Linked DNA regions of Homo sapiens: regions 1, 2 and 3 are each linked to region 4. Evidence: promoter capture Hi-C in 16 types of primary human blood cells and fetal thymus (Javierre and others, 2016). All regions are on one chromosome and are shown on one strand. The core of a region is centred on a gene start or on the middle of the fragment in contact, and the rest is flanking DNA. Distances in the headings are between cores, read along the strand shown. Region 1 overlaps FRMD4B (FERM domain containing 4B). Region 2 overlaps FRMD4B (FERM domain containing 4B). Region 3 overlaps FRMD4B (FERM domain containing 4B). Region 4 holds the start of LMOD3 (leiomodin 3).

Evidence for each region. Contacts are between HindIII fragments. The CHiCAGO score rates a contact against its expected background, and 5 or more counts as called.
Region 1: a fragment that was not itself captured here is called in contact with the fragment with the promoter of LMOD3 in region 4 in 1 of 17 cell types (neutrophils); the score reaches 6.5 in neutrophils.
Region 2: a fragment that was not itself captured here is called in contact with the fragment with the promoter of LMOD3 in region 4 in 5 of 17 cell types (neutrophils, activated CD4 T cells, total CD4 T cells and 2 more); the score reaches 11.7 in neutrophils.
Region 3: a contact is called between a fragment that was not itself captured here and the fragment with the promoter of LMOD3 in region 4, in 1 of 17 cell types (activated CD4 T cells). The highest score is 5.6, in activated CD4 T cells.

Annotation. Positions count from the first base shown.
Region 1 is chr3:69,281,832-69,287,158 of GRCh38, reverse strand. All of the region lies in intron 5 of FRMD4B (FERM domain containing 4B), which reads left to right. Among named protein-coding and RNA genes, the nearest start is that of FRMD4B, 100 kb to the left of the region's middle. The HindIII fragment of the contact is 9,726 bases long and covers 1-5,327 here.
Region 2 is chr3:69,327,882-69,333,317 of GRCh38, reverse strand. All of the region lies in intron 1 of FRMD4B (FERM domain containing 4B), which reads left to right. Among named protein-coding and RNA genes, the nearest start is that of FRMD4B, 55 kb to the left of the region's middle. The HindIII fragment of the contact is 6,316 bases long and covers 1-5,426 here.
Region 3 is chr3:69,363,664-69,368,670 of GRCh38, reverse strand. All of the region lies in intron 1 of FRMD4B (FERM domain containing 4B), which reads left to right. Among named protein-coding and RNA genes, the nearest start is that of FRMD4B, 20 kb to the left of the region's middle. The HindIII fragment of the contact is 203 bases long and covers 3,616-3,818 here.
Region 4 is chr3:69,119,103-69,124,282 of GRCh38, reverse strand. LMOD3 (leiomodin 3) reads left to right here and starts at 1,688. Exons shown (of 3, transcript NM_198271.5): 1 at 1,688-2,190; 2 at 4,223-5,180. The coding sequence starts at 1,897. RefSeq lists an enhancer at 1,634-2,833. The HindIII fragment of the contact is 5,880 bases long and covers 1-3,925 here.

The DNA.
Region 1 (5,327 bases), core at 1,726-4,225, 160 kb before region 4:
AAATAATCCCATGCTGGGATGTTACAGCCATGTCAAATTGCTATAAACGTTTTTACGGCCGAGCATGGCAGCTCATGCTTGTAATCCCAGCACTTTTGGAGGCCAAGACAGGTGGATCACGAGGTCAGTAGTTCGAGACCAGCCTGGCCAACACAGTGAAACCCCATCTCTACTAAAAATACAAAAATTAGCTAGGCGTGGTGGTGTGCCCCTGTAATCCCAGCTACTCGGGAGGCTGAGGCAGGAGAATCACTTGGACCCTGGAGGCAGAGGTTGCAGTGAGCCTAGATTGTGCCACTGCACTCCAGCCTGGGCGACAGAGTTAGACTTTGTCTCAAAAACAAGAATAAAACAAAAAAAGTTTTTAAACACTCTCAGTTTTTTGTTTTTTCTCTTTGCAGACTAGCATAGCTTTAAAAGCCTTCACTGTGGTCTTCTCAAGCAACTTCCTGAGGAAGGGAAGGGAAGCCATGGGCCAAGAGATGCCCAGTGGAGCCTGGCTCCTCCCTTGTACGTTCTGATCTCAATGCCTGGGAATCTCAGAATTCCCTATCCAGACTGTATACCTGTTTCCAGGCCTTCTTTTAGGGTTATTGAGCATGTTATGTGTTCATTTTACCTCTTTTGTTGGATTATTAGCTATAACTCTTTGTTGTTTCCATGGTTACTTTAGGGTTTATAGTATACACATTTTTAACTTATCAAGTCTACCTTCAAGATGATATTATACCACTTCACATGTAGCATAAGAATCTTACAGTAGTATACTTCCATTTCTCTCCTCTCAGCCTTTATGCGATTGATGTCATACAATTTACTTTTAGATAAGTTACAGATGCACATGACATTATTATTTTTGTGTAAATATTCAATTAACTTTAAAGAGATTTAAACAGTACCAAAAGTCTTACATATTTACCCATGGAGTTAGCATTTCTGTTGCTCTTCATTCACTTGTGTAGGTTAATATTTCTGTCTGTTATGATTCTTTCTGCCTGGAGGACTTCCTTTAGCATTTCTTATAGTGTGGGCATACTAGTGGTGAATTCCTTCAGCTTGTACCTGAAGACATCTTTATTTGCCTTTGGTTTTAGAAGATAATTCACATGATATAGGATTCTTGTTGGCAGTTTTTCTCTCTCCGTACTTTAGAAATACTGATTCACTATCTTCTTGCTTGCATTGTTTCTGATGAGAAGTCTGCTGTCATCTTTATCTTTGTGTTTCTGTATGGAATATCTTTTTCTTTAGCTGCTTTTAAATTTTTCTCTTTTTTCTTTTTTCTGCTTTGAGCAATTATTTTTTTTTTCTTTTTGAGATGGAGTCTCGCTTTGTTGCCCAGGGTGAAGTGCAGTGGTGCCATCTCAGATCACCGCAACTTCTGCCTGCCAGGTTCAAGCAATTCGCCTGCCTCAGCCTCCCGAGTAGCTGGGACTATAGGTGTGCACCACCGCACCCGGCTAATTTTTGTATTTTTTGTAGCAATGGGGTTTCGCCATATTGGCCAGGCTGGTCTCAAACTCCTGACCTCAGGTGATCCACCTGCCTCGAGCCTCCCAAAGTGCTGGGATTATAGGCATGAGCCACTGTGCCTGGCCTGCTTTGAGGATTTTTATTATGAGGTGCCTTGGTATAGCTTTCTTCATGTGTTTGTGTATGTGTGTGTGTCATTGGCATTTATTGAGCATCTTGGCTTATAGTTGTCATCAAATTCGGAAACATTTTAGCCGTTATTTCTTCAGGTTTTTTTTTTTTTTTTTTGGCCTCATGTATGCCTCATTTGCAAAGCCCAATTACACATACGCTTGGCCACTTGAACTTGTCACATAGTAATGCTTTGCATTTGTGGGGATTTGGGGGAATATGATATCTTGTATAGTTTCTCTTGCTTTGTCTTCAGTTTCCCTCATCTGTTTTTTGCAATCTAATCTGCCATTAATCCCATTTTGTATATTAGAGTTTTTGTTTTTGTTTTTTTGTTTTGTTTTATTTTTTGAGACAGAGTCTCACTCTTGTTGCCCAGGCTGGAGTGCGGTGGCACAGTCTTGGCTCACCACAACCTCCACCTCCTGGATTGAAGTGATTCTCCTGCCTCAGCCTCCCGAGTAGCTGGGATTACAGGCATGTGCCAACACACCTGGCTAATTTTTTGTATTTTTAGTAGAGATGGTGTTTCACCATGTTGGCCAGACTGGTCTCAACCTCCTGACCTCAGGTGATCCTCCCACCTCAGCCTCCCAAAGTGCTGGGATTTACAGGCATGAGCCACCATGCTCGGCCTTAGAGTTTCTATCTTTAGAGGTTTGATTTGGATCCTTTTTACATCTTGCATGTGACTATTTAACTTTTTAAGCATATTAAATATAGTTATAATAATTGTTTTAATGCCTTTGTCTGTTTATCCTAATGTCTGTGTCAGTTCCGGGTATTTTTGATTGATTTTTGTCTTTGTTATGGGTCATGTTTCTCTGCCTATTTGCATGCCTGGCAATATTTGGTAGGATGGTAGGCATTATTAATTGTATCTTTTTGAATGCTATATATTTTTTGTGTTCCTATAAATATTCTTGATGTTTGGTTTTGGGATGCAGTTTAGTTGATTGAATATGGTTTGGTTTTTTTCAGGTCTTGCTTTTATGATTTGTTAGTCTAGCCCAGAGCAGTGCACATTCTATAGCTAATTGTTCTGCATACTGATCTTCCTGAGTACTCTATTCAATGCCCCATGAATTATGAGTTTTTTATTCTGGCTGGTGGGAATAGGCACCACCTCCAGCCCTGTAAGGATGAGGCACTCTTCCCTCTTATCCTTTCAGATGGTCTCCAACTTTGGGTAGTTTCTTTTCATGCATGGAATGATGAGTGCTCTACCGAATCCTCAGAGGAGACCCTCTATAGATTTTCAGGGGTTCTCTCTCTTCGCAGCTCTCTTTTCTCTGGCAGACTGTTCTGCAAATTCTATTCATTTTGATCTCCCAGACTAAGGAGTTGCTGCATCTCCTTAGCTCAGGGAGTTCACTGTGTTCTGCTGTGTTTCTCCCTCCACAGCCTGGAGCCCTCTCTTGACAGTACTGGGGGCAGTCATAGGGCTCGCCTTGTTCAAGGTTCACTATCTTCGTTGCTGGATATTCAGTGTTATGAAAACTGTTGTTTTATATATTTTGTCTGTTTTTTGTTTTTTTTGTTTTGTTTTGTTTTGTTTTTTCAGTTAAGAGGATAAATTCAGTCCCTGTTACTCCATCTTGGCTGGAAGTGTAAATATTCGAAGCAGAGTTTTTGGCTGAGTCTATCGGGAAAGTAAAATGTTCCCAGCATCAAAGGCTTTACTACAGCCCTCTTTTCTGAGATTCAGGTTTTCCTAAGAACTCTAAGGGTTGACTGATGAGTAGACACCTATATAACAAACACAGCTTTTCAAACACAGCATTTACTGAGTCAGGAACACGTTTCATAAACCACAGTTGGCTATCCTCTCCTATGTGGAGACATACAATCGCTCCTTGTAATATTTTTCACTGCCTAGTTGGCATTGATCAAGTGTTTTCTCTGTTGCTAATGCAAAGGTGGTTAGAATGAAGATTTTCAACTCATGACGTTTCTCTTGTACCTCTGCATGCTAAATTCTGTTTGTCTTGAGAAAGCAAGGAAAAGCAGAATTCCTTTAAATGCTACTGCATTTCATGAATGTCAGTTGCTAGGAGCACCTTTCTTTCTTTTTTTTTTTTTTTTGTTGTTGTTGCTTTTTTGTTTTTTGTTTGTTGTTGTTGTTGTTTTGAGATGGAGTTTCACTCTTGTTGCCCAGGCTGGAGTGCAATGGTGCAATCTCAGCTCACTGCAACCCCTGCCTCCTGGGCTCAAGCGATTCTCTGCCTCAGCTTCCCGAGTAGCTGAGATTACAGGCGCCTGACACCACGTCCAGCTAATGTTTTGTATTTTTAGTAGAGATGGGGTTTCACCATGTTGGCCAGACTGTTCTCAAACTCCTGACCTCAAGTGATTCACCCACCTCGGCCTCCCAAAGTGCTGGGATTACAGGTGTGAGCCACAGCGCCTGGCCTGGGAGCTCCTTTCTAAATGGGAGTGTTTCATGACTTGTCAAATAATTTAGAACTTTTACAGAACATAATATTGTAAGGCACTATGACTGTTATTGAGATAATTTTTTAAATTTTATTTGTAGGAATTTAGAGTGGGATATTTTCTATCTAATTATTATGCAGATGGCTGGGTGTGGTAGCTCACACCTGTAATCCCAACACTTTGGGAAGCCAAGGCGGGTGGATCACTTGAGGTCAGGAGTTCGTGACCAGCCTGGCCAACATGGTGAAACCCTGTTTCTACAAAAATACAACAATTAGCTGGGTGTGGTGGTGGGCGCCTGTAATTCCACCTACTCCGGAGGCTGAGGCAGGAGAATCGCTTGAACCTGGAAGGCAGAGGTTGCAGTGAGCCAAGATCACACTACTGCACTCCAACCTGGCAACAGAATGAGACTCCATCTCCAAATATACGTATATAAAATGTAGATGGCTGGTAACAAATTCTAAGAGATGTTCCAGGATCAGGTAGCTGTTTGGATAAAGCAGCTTTCAAGCAATTTCTTAAGATGTATGATTGTTTGAGAACATTCCACATAAGGAATATCAGCTGAACCATGGCCACAGAGACAAATAAGTTTTATGAGAACATAGTTTCAGCTGTAGAACACTCGTAGGTGGATTTATTGATTGGCAAAAGTGAGTCACTGATGGTTGGTAGCTGCTGTTAACTCAGGACTCACAGCTAGATCTGAAAGTGAACGGGCCCCCCCTCCACACTGCACAGAGGGCATTCTTCTCTCCAGTGAGATGTTTGACACCTCTGATCACACCCTACACACATTTCTTCTCTGCCAGACAGCTTTCGCCTACAGCTACTTCCTTCCTTCCACTGAGAACAGAAATACACAGGCAAGAAAAGAGAGCTCTTATTTGCAAATACTGATAAAACCACAATGTCTTCTTACATACTTGTTTAGTAAGAAATATGACTTATGATAAGATTTGATACAGTTGCTGAAGCTCTGCACAGCTACATAAATACGGATTTATAAAATTCAGCCTCATGAGTATGTCATTTGAAAAACTGGGTGGCTCTCAATGGGTTCTGTAAATATCATTGCCCATACGGCATAGAGAATAAGCCATTGGTGACACTTCAATGTGTTGAAAGAAACAATTGTGCCTCGTTTCTGAGTTTGGGTATCCAGCATGGTCTGAAAAAGGAATAAAGATTTTTCACTTTTGTGAAAAATACTGTAAGCAAAAATATATATATATATTTTTTTT
Region 2 (5,436 bases), core at 1,019-3,518, 210 kb before region 4:
TTCCTTGCTCCAGTGCACTAAAGCCTTCAGGACTCTGACAGTAGTTGGAATAGTTCACAAGCCAAAAAAACCAGAGATTTTTATCTCCAGGACAGTTGCAGAATTCTCCAATTTTTTTTAAAATGTGTATTTTTTTCATTGACTGCAGTCTAATAAAAGGCTTCAGGGACTGGCAGGCTGAGCCATCGAGGCAGCCAAGACCATAACGATGGAGCACTGCAGATTCCCAAAAGCATCCCTGAGTTGAGAGAGCTGCATTCAGCTTACAATTCTAGTTTAATGTGATGGAAAGGCTTCCCACTGTAAAAGGCACAAGATGAAGCATTGCATACAGGAACTGGCTTATATTTTAGCTTGATATTTTTTAACTCTGCTTTTTGGTGAATGCTCTTGTTAAGGACGAGGAGATGGTTTGAAGCGATAGAAAAAAGGAGCTCCTGGCTGGGCACAGTGGATAATGCCTGTAATCCCAGCGCTTAAGGCGGGAGGATTGTTGGAGCCCAGGAGTTTGAGAACAGCCTGGGCAAAATTGCAAGACCCCATCTCTACAAAAAAAAAAAAAAAAAAAAAAAAAATAGCCAGGTGTGGTGGTGCACACCTGTAGTCCTAGCTACTCGGGAAGCTGAAGTAGGAAGATCATTTGAGCTCAGGCGTTCAAGGCTGCAGTGAGTCATGATCACGCCACTGCACTCCAGCCTGGGCAATGGAGTGAGACCCTGTCTCAAAATAAATAAAGAAAAAGAAAAGAAAGGAACTCCCATCAGGAGTCTTGTCTCATTTACCTTTGTGACCACAAGGGAGGAAGAAGTCCCTGGGGAGTCAGACAGGTATGATACCTGATCTTGGCCATCCTCACCTGAGGCCGGTGACTTCAGGCAAGGCATGTGCCCTCTCTGAGTAGCTGCTTCTTTGGGCCTCAGTGACCTCATCTGTAAAATGAGGGTATGACATTTCTGGCACATTGAGACTCCTTGTAAAGTTCAAAAGAGGAAATAGAGGTGAAAGCACTTCAAAAATTTGAGGCACTCCAGACAGGTGAGGTGATGATGGAACATTCAGACTAGGTTTTATGTGGCCAGACCTGCCTGCTCCCTTCTCTTCTGCAAGGTCCAGGGACAGAGTGGAACCTGCTCACCACCTGCCCGGCACCTGAACATGGCCTGTGGGAGCTTTCATCCTGAAGGAGTCTGTATCAATTGCTTGGTGTTTTTTTGTTTGTTTGTTTTTTTCTGAGATGGAGTCTTGCTGTGTCGCCCAGGCTGGAATGCAGTGGCGTGATCTCAGCTGACTTTAACCTCCCTCTCCTGGGTTCAAGCAATTATCTGCCTCAGCATCCCGAGTGGCTGGGATTACAGGCACCAGCCACTGCGCTAGGCTAATTTTTGTATTTTTAGTAGAGACAGGGTTTCACCATCTTGGCCAGGCTGGTCTTGAACTCCTGACCTCTTGATCCACCCACCTCGGCCTCCCAAAGTGCTGGGATTATAGGCGTGAGCCACCATGCCCAGCCAATTACTTGTTGTTTGTTAGTGAAAAGTATAATATTATTAATAATTATTAATATTACCATTTATAGAGTGTGTCCTCTGCCAAGCATTTTATACATCTTATCTCATGTGAGCCACCCAGCCCTGGGAAGTGAGTGTGCTTTTAGTATCTCCATTTTCAGACAAGAAAACCAAGGGTCAAGAGAAGTGAGGTAACCTATACAAGGTCACACAGTAGTATAGAGCAGAGCTGGGATTTAAGTCCAAGTCTGTGCTCTTGACCCTGACACTTCTTAAATAATACACTGTACTTTAAAAAGTAATAATATGGAATGCTAACAGTGCACTAGGCAAAATTATCTCCATTTTACAGCAGCTACTCAGAGAGGATACATGACTTGCCTAAAGTCACCAGCTAGTTAGAGGGCAGGCCAGCATCAGATATCATACCTGTCTGACTCCCCAGGGGCTGCTCCCAACCACCGCCCTACGCCGAGGGGCTGAGTGGCCAGCTGCACCCAGTATTATCCCTCTGCCTAAAGCAAGAGTGACCAAAATTTCAAATTCTGGAATTTAAGGACTCCTCAATGAGTTTGCATAATCCCCTGTCCAGGCCACTCTTACCAGAAGCACCAACGCTTTTTTGAGTGATCCTACTCTACCCTCCCCACCCTTCAGAAATACTGTTTAAGAGGAAGTCTAAGAAACAGCTTTGAGATAGGGACACGGGGGAAAATATTTGGTTCCCTGGATACAGCCTCAAGTGTTGGTTGAGATTTCCTCTCACAAGACACGTTCGTTCCTTCTGATGGAGGCAGAACGGAACTGAGATTAGAATAGAGCAGGAACAGAAGTGGGAGAAACTTGCCGACAGAGCATAATGACATGTGCTCAAATCTGCTTGTGAATGAAAAAGTTGGAAACATCTTCCACCGGTGCTTTAAGGTCATGGCAGCCTCCTTCAGCAGGGAAAAGATTCCAGAAAGATAGCAGCAACACAACTGGGAGGCATCTAGCAATTCAGCGGCAAAAGAGGCCGGGCGTGGTGGCACACGCCTGTAATCCCAGCACTTTGGGAGGCTGAGACAGGAGGATCACTTAAGCCCAGGAGTTCAAAACCAGCCTGGGCAACATAGTGAGACCCTGTCTCTATTATAAAATACATAGATAAGGAAAAAAAAAAGGCGGCCAGGCACAGTGGCTCACGTCTGTAATCCCAGAACTTTGGGAGGCTGAGGCGGGCAGATCACGAGGTCAGGAGTTCGAGACCAGCCTGACCAACATGATGAAACCCTGTCTCTACTAAAAATACAAAAATTAGCCAGGTATATTTCCGCACACCTGTAATCCCAGCTACTCAGGAGGCTAAGGCAGGAGAATCACTTGAACCCAGGAGGCAGAGGTTGCAGTAAGCCGAGATCACCCCATTGCACTCCCGCCTGGGTGACAGAGTAAGACTCCGTCTCAAAAAAAAAAAAAAAAAAAAAAAAGGCAAAAGAATCAAAATATAATGTTGTATACCTTGAATATATATAATATTAAAAAAAAAAAAAGACAAAGGAGTCACTCAGCTGCCAATGGGACCTTCAAAGTAGAAATGGGTAGAAAATTCAGAAGGAGAGCAGGAGATGGAAATGAAGGAAAATCAACTCATTTGTTCATTCCACAAATATTTGTCGAGCCCCAGGATGAGCTAAGCACTGTCTTAGGGGCTAGGAAAACACCAGGAAATGAAACAAATCTCTGCATTTGTGGAACTTACATTCCAGTGGCAAAAGAGCTGGAAAGGCAAATGACACAGAGGATCTGATATGAGAGTTGCCATCCAAGGTCAGGAGACCTTCATCAGTGAGCTATGCACTGTGGATTTCTTGAAGTATAATAATAAATTTATTTTTAACTTTTAGGTTTGGGAGGTTCATGTGAAGGTTTGTTACACAGGTAAACTCGTGTCATAGGGGTTTATTGTACAGATTATTTCATCACCCAGGTATAAAGCCCAGTACCCAATAATAAATTATAACAAATCCCGGCACTTTGGGAGGCTGAGGCAGGCAGATCACCTGAGGTCAGGAGTTTGAGACCAGCCTGGTCAACATAGTGAAACCCCGTCTCTACTAAAAATACAAAAAAAAATTAGCCAGGCCTGGTGGCGGGCGCCTGTAATCCCAGCTACTCGGGAGGCTGAGGCAGGAGAATTGCTTGAACCCAGGAGGCAGAGGCTGCAGTGAGCCAAGATCACACCATTGCACTCCAGCCCAGGTAACAGTGTGAGACTCCATCTCAAAAAAAAAAAAAAAAAAAAAAAAAAAAATTAGCTGGGCATGGTGGTGCATGCCTGTAGTCCCAGCTACTTGGGAGGCTGAGGTAGGAGAATTGCTTGAACCCGGGAGGGAGAAGTTGCAGTGAGCAGAGATTGCGCTACTGCACTCCAGCCTGGGTGACGGAATGAGACTCTGTCTCAAAACATAAAAATAAAAATAAAGAAATAAATTATAATAGTCACCTTTATGTTGGCCTCTGTTCGCCAAGTTCTATGCACAACAACCCTGGAAGGTATTAGTAAATCTATTTTAGAGATTTAAAATAGTAAGTCCTACTAAAGTTAAGTAAGCTGGGCTTCAAACAGAATTCTCTGTAAACCTGAAGCCTCTGTTTGTTCATCTTTATCACGTGGTCTCTCAACGGCCTCCACATCCTGAGTGTTCTGACCATCACTTTCTCCACTGGTATGCTGGTAAATGTTTCTCAGCTGTTACTGGAAAGTGGTCCTGATCCAGAGCCCAAGAGTTCTTAGATCTCGAGCAGGAAAGAATTTAGGATGAGTCCATAGAGTAAAGTGAAAGCAAGTTTATTAGAGAAGTAAAGAAACAAAAGAATGGCCACTCCATAGGCAGAGCAGCACCGAGAGCTGCTAGATGGCTATTTTTATGATTATTTCTTGATCATATGCTAAACAAGGGGTGGGTTATTCATGAATTTTCCAGGAAACAGGCAGGCAGTTCCCAGAAGTGAGGGTTCCTTCCCTTTTTAGACAATATAGGGTAACTTCTGGATGTTGCCATGGCATTTGTAAACTGTCATGGTGCTGGTGAGAGTGTCTTAAAGCATGCAATTGCATTATAATTAGTGTATAATGAGCAGTGAGGACTACCAGAGGTCTTTTTTCATCACCATCTTGGTTTTGGTGGGTTTTGGCTGGCTTCTTTGCTGTGTCCTGTTTTATCAGCTGAGTCTTTATGACCTGTATCTTGTGATACCAGCCCTGCTGACCTCCTATCTCATCCTGTGACTAAGAATGCCTGACCTCCTGTGAATGCAGCCCAGTAGGTCTCAGCCTTATTTTACCCAGGTCCTATTCAAGATGGAGTCACTCCAGTGCAAACACCTCTGACACAACCAGCTCTGGGGAAAAAGGGACACTGATTTGCAACACTTGCCATTTTCTGTGGTGTAAATACTCTCACCTTGACTGACTTACTGATCTGGGAAGAGACGAGCAGTAGCATATCATTAAATGGTGTTACTTCCATGCAGATTCAATAACCACAAGAGCAAAGGTCATAGTAAATGTAGTAAAACAATTGGAAAGTGAAGAGTTTTATTACCTTTGCTTTTAATGCGATTTATTTCATTGTAAGTTCATATTAGTTGTACCTAACAACCAGCTTGAAAATGGGACAGTGGGCTTTCGTGAGTGGCCAAGAGCCAGCTCTCCACCACCATTCTGTCTCTCAAAAGATCTTTCCTCCCAGTTATGTTCCCTGGTGCTTGCCAATAAATCTTTTTTTTCTTAACTCCTTTTTCATATTTCTATGTTCTCCTGACCTGTGGCTTCCAGTTTTGTTGTTTTGTTTTAATCGTTGAATCCCACATTGGCTTCAAAAAGAGTCTGAATCCCATTTAAAAACACAGCCTGCATTAGGTGACAAGGAAGCTTCATGACTAA
Region 3 (5,007 bases), core at 2,468-4,967, 240 kb before region 4:
TTGCCTGGCTTGTCTGTGAAGTGGGAGTATGCCATGGGCTACTTCACTGGGGAGGACTGAGTATCAAGTGTAAGGCAGAAGAGTGAGACATACTCAAAATGTGGCAATTGCATTTGTTCAAGAAGTATGCAAAGCACCTGTCCAAGAACGACAAGGGGGGTAGGCACAGGCTTGAGGGATCTGTGAGAAAAAAGACAGAGGATGTGGCCTGGGAAACCACAGTGCCTTCCTCAGCCACAGCAGCTGCATTCATTATTTACTGCTGTCTAATGTCATCAGTCTGTTCTAATAGATGTTGTAATGGGATGAACAGCTTTATCTGTTTCCTTTGTGTGATTTGCACATATCCTGTGGGAGCTAAGGATATTGGAGTCAGGTGGTATGAGTTCCAATGCTGGCCCACGTCCTTTACTGGCTGGGTAACTCAGAGCATGTTTCTCAACCCATTTGAGCCTCAGTTTCCTCATCTGTAAAATGGGAACATGATATCTCGTGATGTTGTCGGGTTTAAATGGGAGAGTGCCATGTGACTGCTTAAACAGATGCCTAGAACATGAAAAGAACTCAATAAATTATAGTTTAGAAAAAGGCCTTGGCCACGAAAAGAGGTAAAATAAAAAAAGAGAGAAGGAAAAGCATCCCAGAAATGGGACTATAACATGTTTTACATACTGATATATGTCATATAGGTGAAATTACCTAAAATAAGAATGAGAGGAAATGGATATTTTAAAGCAGAAGCATTAAATTATGATTGATCTGATAAATTGTTGCAACCTTTTTATAGCACAGTCTAGTTGTTTCCAGTCAAAATGTAAGATATTTGTTCTCTATGACCAAGCATTTCCATTTCAGGAAATCCTCCTAAGGACATTCTCATGTAATGGCGCACGTGCAAGGATTTTCATATTTTCATATTTCAAATAGCAAAGCAGTGAGAATAAACAGAATAGTTCATTAAATGACAGTACCTCGGTACTATGGGATTCTATGAGATCAGGAGAGAGAATGGAGTTGAAAATTGGCTCAGATAATTGTCAATGATATATTTTTTGGGTAAAAACAAAAATATTGGCCCAGATAATTGTCAATGATATATTTTTTGGGTAAAAACAAAAATATTGGCCCAGATAATTGTCAATGATATATTTTTTGGGTAAAAACAAAAACAAAGTACAAGACAATATATGGGATGTGTACATGTGTATGTATATATGTATGTATGTGTATTGTTATGGATATATGCAAGCAATGTGTGTATGTATGTGTTCATGTATGTGTGGAGGGATGGGGCTGGACATGTATAGCCCAAATTATTAATAAATAATTTTTACCTCTGGGAAGTGTAAGTGGATGAAGGAGAAGTTTCTGCTTCTCTTACTTTCATATTATTCTGAAATCAAATATTTTATAGCAAGAATATCTATAATATTTTTACAATTTTGTAAAATGTCCTATTCAAAACATTTGATCCAGGCTCTTGTGTAGACCATTTCTGGAGAATAAAGATCTGTTTAATTTAACTTTGTGTCCATTCACACAGTGCCAGAAGGTAGTAGTGTCTCCAAGTGTTTGTCTAGTATGTCCATTTAAAAATGATTGTTCACTTGGCACGGTGGCTCATACCTGTAAACCCAACACTTTGGGAGGTTGAGATGGGTGGATCACTTGAGTCCAGGAGTTCACGACCAGCCTGGGCAACATGGCAAAATTTCATCTCTACAAAAAATACAAATTAGTCGGGCATAGTGGCAACACCTGTAGTTCTAGCTACTCAGGAGGCTGAGGTGGGAGGATCACTTGAGCCCAGGAGGTTGAGGCTGCAGTGTGCTGTGATCATCCCACTGCACTCCAGCCTGGGCAACAGAGTGAGACCCTGTCTAAAAACAAAACAAAACAACAAGAAAAATACAAAGACTATTAATTATTATTGATATGAATACTATTGAAAAAAAAGGTCGTGTTTGTGCTCTTTTAAGAACTATAGAGTTTTTATCATTAAAGCAACATATGTTAATAAATTTAATTGTTAGAGATATGCATGGCTTAGAACATGAAGGTTCTTTAATGGTTATTAACAGGGCATATATTTGCCAGATATTTTCTAAACCTATAGTGACATACATATCATATCATTATAATATAAATTTTTACAGAGGTGAGATCACCCTATACTTACCTGGCAGGGGAGATACCATGATCACGAGGTGAGATCACCCCACATAATTTATTCTAAAATGTATTTACTTACATGTCTTACATACTGATATATGTCATTATTTTTAATAAGTGTTGTATATTCAATGGTATGAATGAACCATAATTAATTTTTAATAATTACATCAGTCTCCTATTGATGGACATTAAGTTGTTGTCAATTTTTTTTGTTTTTGTTTTTGTTTTTGTTTTTTGAGACAGAGCCTTGCTCTGTTGCCTAGGTTGGAGTGCAGTGATGCAATCTCGGCCCACTGCAACCTCCGCCTCCTGGGTTCAAACAATTCTCCTGCCTTAGCCTCCCAAGTAGCCGGGATTACAAGCCTGTGCCACCATGACCAGCTAATTTTGTGTGTGTGTGTGTGTGTGTGTGTGTGTGTGTGTGTGTGTGTGTGTTTTGTAGAGGTGGGGTTTTTCCATGTTGGCCAGATTGATCTCAAACTCCTGGCCTCAAATGATCTGCCCCCTCCTCAGCCTCTCAAAGTGCTGGGATTACGGGCATAAGCCACCATGCTTGACCTGTTTCTAATTTTTACTAAGACAATGCTACAGTAACCATTCTTATACATAAAACATTTGTGGGAGCATTTCTGTGAAGTGAATACTTTGAAATGATATTGCTGGAATTTGGAAGGAATTTGGTTTTCCGAAAATTCCACAGCTGAGTGCGGTGGCTCACACCTGTAATCCCAGCACTTTGGGAGGCCGAGGCGGGTGTATCACTTGAAGTCAAGAGTTCAAGATGAGCCTGGCCAACATGGTGAAGCCCCGTCTGTAATAATACTAAAATTAGCCAGGCGTGGTGAAGTGCGCATGTAATCCCAGCTATTCAGAGGCTAAGGCAGGAGAATTGCTTGATTCGGGAGGCAGTTTGTGGTGAGTCGAGATTGCTTCACTGCACCCCAGCCTGGGCAACAGAGCAAGACTCCATCTCAAAAAAAAGAAAAAAAACAAAGGTTGTATCTATTTATGCTACTACCAAGTGAATAAGAATCATTCTTGTCCACATTCTAGCTAGCAACTTTGATTTATACCAGTCTGCTGGCCAAAAATGTACATTTTATTTGTTTTTATTTTACTTCATTTATTAGTAGAGATGTCCAATTTCCATAACTTTCTTAAGGACCATGATACTTGGAATACTGGAGTTGTTCTTGCCCGATAACATTGGGGGAAACACATACTGTGTTTTGTCACAGTATAAATTGGTTTGAGAACAATTTTAGAGCCAGACTTGAGAGCAGGTTTTAGTCTCCTAGAGAATATTTGTCATCTCAGAGTGATATGGAATTTCCTTGTATAGTTAAAATAGGTTTATATAGAGCATTGCTGGTTAAAACCCAAGTGCCATAAAGATAGATGTTCACACAGCCTCTCTGTTATGCACTAAAATCTTAAGCTTTAGAAATGGCTGAGAATAGTTATTGCTTTTTATAATCACTATACTATTCGGTTTCATATTGTGGTTTCCTCCTTTACTGTTTAGTGAATTTCAGCAATTTTGTTTTATCTCTTCTGTAAATGGCCTAAACTTCATTTAGATGAACTGAGAAGGAATCACCAAGGCCTTTATTTATTTTTTTAAAAAAACAAGTGAGAAAGCTTGGGGTAGGAGAACAGAATGCTGCACCATTTATTTTTTCTTTTTTGTCTTAGATGCCCAGGGGTTTTTGAGCTTCTTTGGCCATCTAAATTCATATTTATTAACTTAAATATAATTTAACCAGAGTCGAATTGTCTCGATGAGATTTCATAGCCACGAGCGACCATGAAACTGTCATTTGTCTCATTTGGGGAGGCACCAGAACTGATTACTCAGGAGATGATTGAAACTGCTGATCCCATTAATGCCATGGTTATTCTGGAGATAGTGCCCTGAGGGTGAAGATGGGTTGACCCACAGATTTGTTTGTATATAGACTTTAACCAGAGCCAGGCTGACTCAGAGGCAAACTGGAATTGCTGCAGGAAGTTTCCCAATGAATGTTTTTGTCATATTTTTTAGCTGCTCACTCACCACTGGCATACCATTAGCACCCAGTCTCCCTTCTGGAGGTGCCCACCAGGCAGATGGCAAAATGGCAGGTCCCAGCGCATGCTTCCTGCCGTGGCCACCAAGGGGCCAGCTTGTCCTCTGTCTGTCCCCTGGTTCAGCTTGGCTAAACTTGCATGTTCCTGTCTTCTGAGTTTGAGCTAAAAGGACAGGATGTTTGGAAGTCAGAATCATCAAGGCAGTAACTGAGGTGAGTGGGACAGGCAAGATAGTCGCGTGACATAACTTGTTACTTTGCTCCCTGTGGGTTCTCTTGTTTTGTGTTCATTTTCTAAGCCTGATTTAAACATCCATTCTTTGCTTCTTTCATCCTGAGAGGCCTGATTTGGTTCAGGGATCAATATCACCCCCTTGCCCATATAACTTGGGTAAATACTGATTGATTGGTCTCTAACCCAGTGCTTCCCTACTTTCTCTGATGTCATAGAATACACAGAAAATGATAGTGTTTGTGTGGCACCTGGAGTAAATGGAAGAAGCTGCTCAGGCTGGAGGTGATCACCAAATTGTCTCTGGCTGCCTCCAGTCCTGAAAAGACCAATAGCTCAGTACACCTGTTGCCTCAGTACACTGGTTTTGAAGCTGTGGTTGAAGCTAGTCATGATGACCTTATTCCTCTGCCAGGGATTGGTTAAGGGTAAACATAGGACCCAGCTCTGGTCAATGGGGAGCCATTTCTTAAAAAGCTGTCTGTTCTTGAAAATAGGCATGGCTGGGCCAGGTGCAGTGGCTCACGCCTG
Region 4 (5,180 bases), core at 439-2,938:
GTGATTTTTGCTGTTACTTTAATCTACATATAAAAAGTATTTAATTTCTTCGTATTCTGTGACCTAGCAATTTCACTTTTTAGAATTTGTTCAATTTACTCTAAAGAAATAAACTTGTGTGTTTATAAACTATTTAGGTATAGGGATATTTATTAAAGAACTATTTGTGCTTGTGAGAATTGAAAACATTCTAAATATCCAACAATTGAGGATTGGTTATACAAATTATGGTACATCCATATAAAGAATCCTAACAGAGGGCAATAAAAAATTATTTAGTAGTAGAGTACACAGTTGCCTAGAAAAAAAGAATCCTGACTTTCTCAGTCAAAAAAACAGATGAGAAAAAATGATAGAGTTTGTATGCCTAAAAGAAAGGACTGGAATGAAAAAACTGAAATGTTAATAGTGGTAGCTTCACAGTGAGGTAAGGGGAAGATTTTGTTCTGTGCCTTTCTATGTTATCCTAACTCTTGTACAATGAATGTATATTTCGGAATAAGAATATATTTACGAGCCAGGCACGGTGGCTCACGCCTGTAATCCCAGAACTTTGGGACACCGAGGCAGGTGGATTGCTTGAACTCAGAAATTCGAGACCAGCCTGAGCAATATGGCAAAACCCTGTCTCTACAAAAAATACAATTAGCTGGGTGTAGTGGTGCATGCCTGTGGTCCCAGCTTGATCCTGGGAGGCAGAGGTTGCAGTGAGCTGAGATCGCAGCACTGCCCTCCAGCCTGGGTGACAGAGCCAGACCCTGTCTTAAATATATATATAATAAAACTTGTATATTATATATTATTGTACCCTTTGTCACACAAATAATGGCATGTAAAACACACTGTTTTGTACTTTGCTATATTGTGTAACCTTGTACACACGTTGTTTCACCCATGTAGGGGTATATCTGTAGGATACACTTCTCAAAGTGGAATTGCTGGGTCAAAGGAAATGGGCATTTGTAATTTGGACAAATGTTGCATATTGCCCCTTCAGGGTTTGAAAACAAAATCTTCTCATAGTTTCTTTTAGTATATTAGTGGTCTGGATTTCTTTTTTAACACTTCACTTTAGAGCCATTTTCATTGATATTGGCTTAATGGATACTTAATAAGAAAAGCAAATAATTTAAAATATTAAACTCACTTATAGTGGAAATCCAAGTGCTGGTTGTCCCCATCTGTTAGATCACAGGATCTAGATGCAAACAGGACATCTTGCAAAGGTTCGGCTTACACAGAGGATGAGTGACATAGCAAGACCTCTGTTCCACTGTGCACCACTTTATTTGCTTCCACACTCACCTTGTAGGGAAGAGGCAGACCCTAAGAGCTTGATTTCTACCTTCAAGTGAATTCTTTACTTCAGAAACAACTCAGGTTGCTGGTTGGATTTCCCTTCTGAAATATTGTAAGTTGCTTTAATATTTAAATAAAAACAAGTGGAATCCCCTGGAGTATTGGGGTATGTATGTATGAGCTGCATGAATTTGTGTATGGCAATATGATGGCATATAGGAAGATAATTAATTTTATTCCTGCAGAGATTCTGTAGTCTCTGCTAGTCTCTGGCAAACATAGCAGCTGTACTGAAATGTCAGATGGATTTGCGCAGCTGACTCAAGTTGCCAAAAAGAGAGCAGCATAGTTGTTCCATAAATTGACCCCATCCAGCCAAGCCCTGCTTAATATAGATCCGGCAAGAGCTTAGCTGTGATCACTCCTAGCTGCTCAGCAAACCACTGAGGTTCCTGGGAAAAAAAAAAAAATATCTCAAGGGTGTGTTAACTTGGGACACTCGTTAACTGGGGGACCTTCTTGAGGCTTTTTTCCTTCTTTTTAAAAATCATCTTTGATTATTCTTCTTTTCTAGTAAAATAATATTTAGAAAAAATAATGTCAGAGCACAGCAGAAATTCAGATCAAGAAGAACTTCTCGATGAGGAGATTAATGAAGATGAAATCTTGGCCAACTTGTCTGCTGAAGAACTGAAAGAACTGCAGTCGGAAATGGAAGTCATGGCCCCTGACCCCAGCCTTCCCGTGGGAATGATTCAGAAAGATCAAACTGACAAGCCACCGACAGGAAACTTCAATCATAAATCTCTTGTTGATTATATGTATTGGGAAAAGGCATCCAGGCGCATGCTGGAAGAGGAACGAGTTCCTGTCACCTTTGTGAAATCCGAGGTAACCAGAGATTTGTGTACAACCGAGAAATGGCTGCCTGGGATGGGCTGTTAGGTCTCTCTGTTGTAACTGTGATTTCTCAAGACTCCAGGGTTTGGTTCTGCTTTGTTTTTGCCATATCTAGATTAAACCATAATATTTAATCCTACTCCGACTGGAACTTTCTGAAACACATTTATATTTACAAGGGGAAAATTGGGTAATTTCTTGCAAATGTCTCTTTTTAAAAATTGCTGTCGGGTTTGCTGTGTCAGAAAGCCTGTGTTCTATTGCCACGATACTTAGTGACTTAACTCATAACCCAGAGGCAGTTGTCCTTACCTCTCTCTTTCTTTTTTATTGCAGGCCCCTTTGAGAAAGTAATGACAGCTCTGTAGCCTCTGTCTCTCTGGCACATCCAAACATACGCAGTGTTTCGCACACAGTGTCAAACATTTCAGTCCTCCTGAAGTCTGGCCACACAACCTGCAATTAAACCAAGTCGAATAACCAGAAAATGTCTTATATTATTACTATGTATTGGCTGTCAGTGATGACATTTAGAAATCGATGGCTATTAAGTGGTTTTGAAGCTAGTTCTTCACTTTCTAAAACCTGAAAGCTAGAATTGTTAACTCTGCAAACTTACTGTGCATGAGCATAATTTTTTTTTTTATGTTCCACTTGAAAATGACTTAACAAAAAGAGGACAGAGATGCCTCCTAGGTAAAGTCTCTTTAGGTTATGCCTGTTTACAAAGATACATCTTGTTAAATTACTCTGAAGCTGGCTGTAATTAAGGAAAGTTGTCAATTGGTTTTACAGTCAGTAGAGTTTAAACATGTGCTAAGATTAAGAAAAGAAACAGCTGGATTGATCAGGTTAGAGTTCAAGGTACAATTTGCAGATTTTTTACAACTGGAGATCAATGGATGAAAAGCCAATTCTATGTGAATGCCAGTTTCAGGGGGTAAAAACGAGTACTTGCAACATGTTTTTCCTTCCTCTGGTATAACTTGAACAGCTTGATGGTTGGCTCCCCCTTCTGGTCAAGGTGAGAAATGCAGTGGTGAAGACTTCAGGTGGTTAAGGTGACTTGTCACTGTCTCTTCTGACCTATGTTATGAGCATGAAATTTTTGCTCAAATGAACCTGTGTCTCAACTTGCTATACTGGCTTTCAAAATGATATCTATGAGGCCCACAAGTTGCATAGAAAAGCATTATAATTGATGTGCAAGAATCTAATACATATTATTGATAAAAGGCCCATTTTATTTCCCAGACTAAGCAATTATTTCTCAATGTCTGCATAATCCTGTTTCATCTTACAGCTGGCCCTGGTTCCTAGGCACTTTCTTTCACAAGAAACTGGGATAGTAAACTTGTCCTAGACAGAGTATCATGGCAGTTGTCAAAGAACTGAAAAAATAGAATCAAAATTGAGGTTTTAAATATATATATGTATATATATATATTCAAAATCAAAATTGAGGTTTTTAAATATATATATATTCCAAAATGTCAAACGTATCTAATTTCCCATACATTATGTTATGTTCTCAGAGGAAGTTCATGTACATTCTATACTAGATTAGTAGACATTGTAGGGATGTTAATTTTAGGGCAATAATTTCCTTATTCTAATATATTTATAGTATCACATTTATAATATATTGGAATAATAAGGAAATTATTGCCCTAACTCAGGACTGTTGGGTACTAGATGCCTATTTGGTAGATACAAAATCAAAGCTTCAGTGTATCGATGAACAATTCTATGAGGTTTTCAAAACAATTTTTAACTGCTTCTGAAATTAAACACCATTAAAAAGTACAGAATATTAAAATTAATAAGGTTTCCTTTTAATACTCATTTTAATTTATGGGATAGAATAACCACCCATTTTTAGCAATCAGCTATTTAAATAAGGATTATTTAAAATAGCAACCAGCTCTTTTAAATAAGCATTTTTATTATCTCCACTAGCTGATGCTCCACTTCATATTTCTTCTCTGCTATGTATTCTAACCCTCATAAACCTCTCTTGTAGGAAAAGACTCAAGAAGAGCATGAAGAAATAGAAAAACGTAATAAAAATATGGCCCAGTATTTAAAAGAAAAGCTCAATAATGAAATAGTTGCAAATAAAAGAGAATCAAAGGGCAGCAGCAATATCCAAGAAACAGATGAAGAAGATGAAGAAGAAGAAGATGATGATGATGACGACGAAGGAGAAGATGATGGTGAAGAGAGTGAAGAAACGAACAGAGAAGAGGAAGGCAAAGCAAAGGAACAAATTAGAAATTGTGAGAACAACTGCCAGCAGGTAACTGACAAAGCATTCAAAGAACAGAGAGACAGACCAGAGGCCCAAGAACAAAGTGAGAAAAAAATATCGAAATTAGATCCTAAGAAGTTAGCTCTAGACACCAGCTTTTTGAAGGTAAGTACAAGGCCTTCAGGAAACCAGACAGACCTGGATGGGAGCTTGAGGAGAGTTAGGAAAAATGATCCTGACATGAAGGAACTCAACCTGAACAACATTGAAAACATCCCCAAAGAAATGTTACTGGACTTTGTCAATGCAATGAAGAAAAACAAGCACATCAAAACATTCAGTTTAGCCAATGTGGGTGCAGATGAGAATGTAGCATTTGCCTTGGCTAACATGTTGCGTGAAAATAGAAGCATCACCACTCTCAACATCGAGTCCAATTTCATCACAGGTAAAGGGATTGTGGCCATCATGAGGTGTCTCCAGTTTAATGAGACGCTAACTGAGCTTCGGTTTCACAATCAGAGGCACATGTTGGGTCACCATGCTGAAATGGAAATAGCCAGGCTTTTGAAGGCAAACAACACTCTCCTGAAGATGGGCTACCATTTTGAGCTTCCGGGTCCCAGAATGGTGGTCACTAATCTGCTCACCAGGAATCAGGATAAACAAAGGCAGAAACGACAGGAAGAGCAAAAACAGCAGCAACTCAAGGAACAGAAGAAGCTGATAG